Linked DNA regions of Homo sapiens: region 1 is linked to region 2. The links are contacts of gene promoters, found by promoter capture Hi-C in human tissues and cell types (Jung and others, 2019). All regions are on one chromosome and are shown on one strand. Each heading gives the region's core, a stretch centred on a gene start or on the middle of the fragment in contact. The rest is flanking DNA. Distances are from core to core; before and after follow the strand shown. Region 1 overlaps RAD18 (RAD18 E3 ubiquitin protein ligase). Region 2 holds the start of OXTR (oxytocin receptor).

What was found. The method cuts DNA at HindIII sites, captures the fragments that hold promoters and counts their contacts. A contact is called where the count stands out against the background at its distance.
Region 1: a contact is called between a fragment that was not itself captured here and the fragment with the promoter of OXTR in region 2, in 5 of the 25 tissues and cell types used here (adrenal gland, bladder, heart right ventricle and 2 more).

The regions. Positions count from the first base shown.
Region 1 is chr3:8,891,004-8,893,703 of GRCh38, forward strand. The region is part of intron 11 of RAD18 (RAD18 E3 ubiquitin protein ligase); the gene reads right to left. Among named protein-coding and RNA genes, the nearest start is that of RAD18, 71 kb to the right of the region's middle. The HindIII fragment of the contact is 5,103 bases long and covers 1-2,700 here.
Region 2 is chr3:8,768,363-8,771,062 of GRCh38, forward strand. OXTR (oxytocin receptor) reads right to left here and starts at 1,251. Exons shown (of 4, transcript NM_000916.4): 1 at 869-1,251; 2 at 134-229. RefSeq lists enhancers at 47-718, 1,366-1,415. The HindIII fragment of the contact is 11,538 bases long and covers 1-2,700 here.

The DNA.
Region 1 (2,700 bases), core at 21-2,520, 120 kb after region 2:
CAAATATGATGTCTGTTTGTTCATGTGTTGAGATACACATACACGCACATGTATAAAGCATATATATATAAAATATATATATATATATATATATCTGTGTTTTATGCATACACACAGTAACCTTTTTACCCACTTCCCACCCCCACGAAAAACAAAATTCCACCCTTTGGGGGTGATACTGCTCCTACTGAAAACCCACGAGCTAGGGAAATGGGAGCTGCGGAGGATCACGTAGTTCTGGGGCCTGGCAGGGGTCACAGAGTTGGAGAAAGAGTAAAGTAAGCTTCTTGCCAACACCCCCCTGTGCTCCACAACACACACAATTTTTTTTTTAAACAGGAAGGTTACAAAGCATCTCTACTATTCTAGCTAAGAAAGGAGGATGGCCAAGCCTGTCAACTAACCTAGTAGAGTCTGTGATCAATTTACCTAGGGGCTTTCAAATCACCAGCACAAATCACTGATTTGTTAAAGGAAAACATTTGCAGTACACTAATGACATAAATCTAAGAGGTTTTTGCTATGCTACCTCAGTGAAAACAGATGTTAGAGGTGGTTAACAAAAAACACATCTCAGAAGTTGCCTGCAATCTCCTCTTCCTCTGTGACTTCAATGTCACTGCCCAGCCAGGCTGCACAGCTCCCTGGTGTCTTCAATTCCCATTATCTTTCCTTCTGCCCCACCTCAGGCACTCACCTGAATGATAACCAAATCACTAAATGGACTGATACAAAATTTGGGAGGTTCAGAATTTTATCTAAAATGAAGTTTCAGGATTATCTGCTATATCTGCTGTTCCAATTCTAGTCACCACTGAAAAACACAGTTGATGCTAATACAATTAAAATACCAGACAGAACTGCTCATTCCTTTTTCAAGTAATGTGCTTATTACCATATCTGCTCAAAAACCACATTCCTAAAATTAAACATAGTTTCACAAATAGGATTTTACAAAAAGACACTTAGGTATAGCAGTCAGTGTTACTAAAATTATCACTCAGATCGCTTCCCTGGGGATAAAAGCAATTAATATTTTTGAAGTCTTAGTCATTTTAATATGCCTTGAGGATCAAAAATTCCTTTAACATTCTTTCAAGACATTTAAAAAATCTTCCAAAGGAGAAAATTAATTACTCATTCTGATATTTCTGGGGTCAGAGCATATACAAGCCTACACAACTGCAGCTTTAAAGTCTAGAACGAGGAACTTTTTCAGCTTGTCTACTATTTGGTCTTGAAACATTCTGGAAGACCACGCTTCAAGAAGCTGGATGAATGTAAGGTTTGGTACATGAACGTTACAGCTCCCCTATGGAAGGGCATTCAAATGGCCCTCTCTGATGTCCCTACTGGTCCAGGCTACAGTGGATATTAATATATAGATTACACGTGAGAAAGACTCACTGGCAAAGATTCAAAATCGAATCTTGAATTCGATGGAATTCCCAACCTTGGTCCAGGAAGATATTAATAGGCTTATTTAGAACACCTGCAATTTATTTTTCACACCTTTTAGTCAGCTTTTAGCCTTATTTTCAGGTCAAAGTTGCAGAAATGTAAGCTAATTCTGTGTGTGTGCATGCACACACACATGCACACCTTGGCCAAGCTGGTTTTTCTGTAATATCTCACTCTTGTCATTCTCTGACGGAAAGTAGCACAGCTTCTTCAGCAAAGTAAAACACTATCTTCGCATATTCCTTTTGTAGCATCTTATTTCATTCTACTAGTAAAGAATTTACTACTGAAGCTGAAAAGTAAGATGTCAAATACCTACGGCAAATGTATGACTGGTAATGTTAGTTAGAGAAAAAACCCTCAGATTTCGGTGTCAGACAAAGTTAAGTTGAGGTCCCATTTCTGTTACTTACTGTGTAATTTTGGGCCAGTTACTTAACTTTCCTCTGTGTCAATATCCTCACATATAAAATCAGGATAATGATACATGTATTCCTTAGGGCTTTTTAAAAGCTTATTCAATATAACACATTAAATATTTAGCATAGAGCTTGGTACGCAGTAAATGTTCAACAAATGTCAGTTCCATTTTCATAAAACAGATTTGGGTCTGAATTATCTGAATAATTGCCTCAGCACCATGCTCCAATTTGCCCGAGAAAACCTGATTACTATGTGCTCTATTTTAATCTTTGATTTCCACTGTTTCTATGACACCAGGGTGTAAATTCATCAGAACCAGCATGGCAGGTACACAGGGTACTGCGGGGTAGGAAAAAACGCAAACATCTGCTATAAAAATCCTGAGGATTAAGGATTACCTACAAGTGGAATTTTTCTAGCATCTAGTAGTTACCTGCCCATATTTCTTCCCTTAATTGTGGCACTAATTTGAACGTGGTTGAGTATATCCAATTTAAAACAATAACTCTTCAAGGGTAGATCACTGGAGGATCAATGCAGGACAACATGCCTACCAGACAATGGTACTTAAATAAATTCTGTCAGCTACCATGAATCTTCCCTCAAACCCCTATTTTTAGTAATCTGTAAGACAAACAATAGCTTATATGCCAAATATTTTAGCAGTTGGCTAACGTATTAGAATAGTAAAGTTCCAGGTTCCAAAAAACTCATTCAATTATGACAATGACGAAAATTATCATGTTCTGAGCAACTACCTCTACAGGCCACAGTGATAATTACTTTGTACACATTAGCTTTTTTAATTTTTTTTTT
Region 2 (2,700 bases), core at 1-2,500:
CCGCGTTTCTCTTCCGACGCGGGTAGGGCGTGCTTGTCCCATTCCCAGGAACCCAACTCATCTGAAACAACAGGGCACAACCGCCGGCCTCGGGTTGCTCAGCCGCCACCCCAGAAATCCCCGTTGGAGGTACCTCCTCTGAGCCACTGCAAATGAGCGGGAATCCTCTACCGGCCACAAGCCCAGAGCCCCCAGCGTGCCAGTTCCTCGGGATGTTCAGCGGCTTCCACTGGGGGAGAAGGGAGGGTCAAAATCAGCAACGTTCCTCCGGGAGTGGGAATCTAAAACCAAATCACCTCCCCGAGGGAATCTCCAAACTACCTACTCGCCCCAGGCTCCGACCCTCAGCATATCCACCTGCCGCGGGACCCCCAAACCAGCCCCTCTCCTAGTAAACATTAATTCAAGTACTTCCTCCGGAAATCCCCAAATAGCCACTTGCCTGGGAAACCCCAGCTCTGGTCCTTCCCCGTCTAACCCCCTTTTCTAAGACGGTCGGCCGTCACTCCCTGAACTTCCACAGCACCTGCTTCGGTGGAAACCCGGTTCTGCAGTCCCTGCTGGGGGAACCCCTGCCTCAAAGCCCAAGATGCCCAAGCGCTGTTCCCAGACCCTGGCATAGACACCTCCCGCGGGGCTCCTCCCCAGCCCGGCAGCCTCGAAAGTTCTGGAACCCCTGACTTGCGCTTTGGACCCAGATAATCAAGGACTCTGAGTCTCAATCCCGAGAAGTCACTTTACAATCTCTCGGAACACCCCGAGCTCCTCCAGGAACAAGGAGTGCGAGGCACCCCACCACCTCCACTCGGGTCCCGATGGCTCCACCGGCCCTAGCCATCCCGTCCACCCCTGCTTAGCACCCAGCTACCTGCACCGAGTCCGCAGGCGAACCTAAAGTTGACTCCCCCCGGGGAAGTTGCACGGCGACTGACGGCCCCAGTGACGCGTGCGCTCCCGGCCCGAGTTGGGATGGCCTGCCGGCTGCACCTAATGTGATGCTAAGCTGAGGTCTCTCACTGGAGCCTCGGTTGGAATCCCCTCGCCGCAGCCTGGCTGGTCGCTGGATGGGTACAGGAGGCGAGCGAGGAGCGCCTCCCAGGCTGCGCGCGCGGACAGCGTCTGGATGCGGCGCTGTGCGCTGGGGCTGAGGCTGCACTATCGCACGGGTCCGCTAGGGGGCGGGCGAGGCCAGCCGCGCAGACCCCTCCGGAGCGGAGCTGGTTCGCCCAGCGTTGGTCCCAGAGCCTTAACAAATGGGTTTATTTTGCAGTGGTTTAAAACTGCGAGAGGGAGGGAACTCGTCAATAACCCGCCCGTTTCTTCCTTTCTTGGTTTAGAAGCTCTTGACTCCGAGACACATAGGAGGCTTGAATAATAATGTTCTTCCCCGGGTAGATAGTGATGAAGTTACAAAAGCATTTAAACTGATTATTTCCCAAAAATGATGTTAATTTTCAGGCTTTTCTCTCCCCCCACACCTCCAGCTTGATGTAGCGGCTTTAGCAGTGAACTCAAATAAGTCTTTGCTTTGGAATACTTTTGTTCCTATTCCCGTTAATGAGGAATTAGAAATGGCCTCTATTCTAAGCAGTGCTGGGAGAGGCGTTATTTTTTCGGTAGTTTTAGAGGAAATTCTGAAGCACAACACTGTCTTCATTTAAAGTGATTCTGCTTGTCTGCGCCCAAGAGCCGTTTCTGCCTCCTTGTCGCGCTTCGGAATTAAAATTCTAAATGATGCCAAAGGAAGATAAAATGTTAAAGACAGCTTCTCAGCCTCCCTGCCCCTTCTCTATTCTAAAATCATTTTTTGAAGTAATTTACAGTGGCCAAGAATTAAGTCAGAAAAAAAGGCCAGGATTCAAAAATAAACAGGGCTCTTTAAAATGCATTAAATGTGTATTTCCTCCTGACATTTCACTTCTCCGTCTTTTTATTATGTGGAGAGACTTGAGTTAGCCAAGGACTGGGTTTCCTTAATCCACAATTACAGCCCCATGCCGAGATATCCCAGGGGCCAACCTTACAGCACCTGGATCCCAGGGTTCTAGCTGAGTAATCATTCCAGAATGGGGCTGGGAATCTTGACAGCATTGCCAAGGGGTGGCAGGCAGTATTAATCAATATTAGTCAATAGTACCTATCGGCCTCGAAAATTACAGATTAAAGTTACAGACGACTCAGGTGAGAATGAAGTGACCTTGGGCAAGCCCCTTCTCTTTGGGCCTCAGTCTCCTCATATGTAAAATGAGAGCACTGGTCAAGATAGCTAATGTCTGAGGTCCTGTCCCTCTGGTTTTCTGAAACTGTATAATCTGTGCAATCTGAGGGTTCAATCCTAGCAGGTAAAACACCCCTGCCTCACTCCACGGCTGGATGAAGGCAGATTTTTCCCTATGAGCCCCTGACCGGTGAATGTGAGAAGGAAAACACTGGCCTGTAGAACCAAGCCTGCCCTTCTTTCTCCTGGAAGACAGCTGCTTTCTAGGGAGCAAGTTTACTGAGCCACTTCACCAAGGACAGACTCTTCTACCCTTTGTAGGGAAGCCTGCCTACCTGTGTGGTCCTCGCGTAGCCCGTGAGACAGCCTAATTCTGGATTCACCTAACAGGGCTATTTAGTCTCATGCAAAAGGTAAATTCTCTAACTTAGTTTTAATCTAAACAACAACAATAACAACAACAGTAATAGTGTGATCCCCAT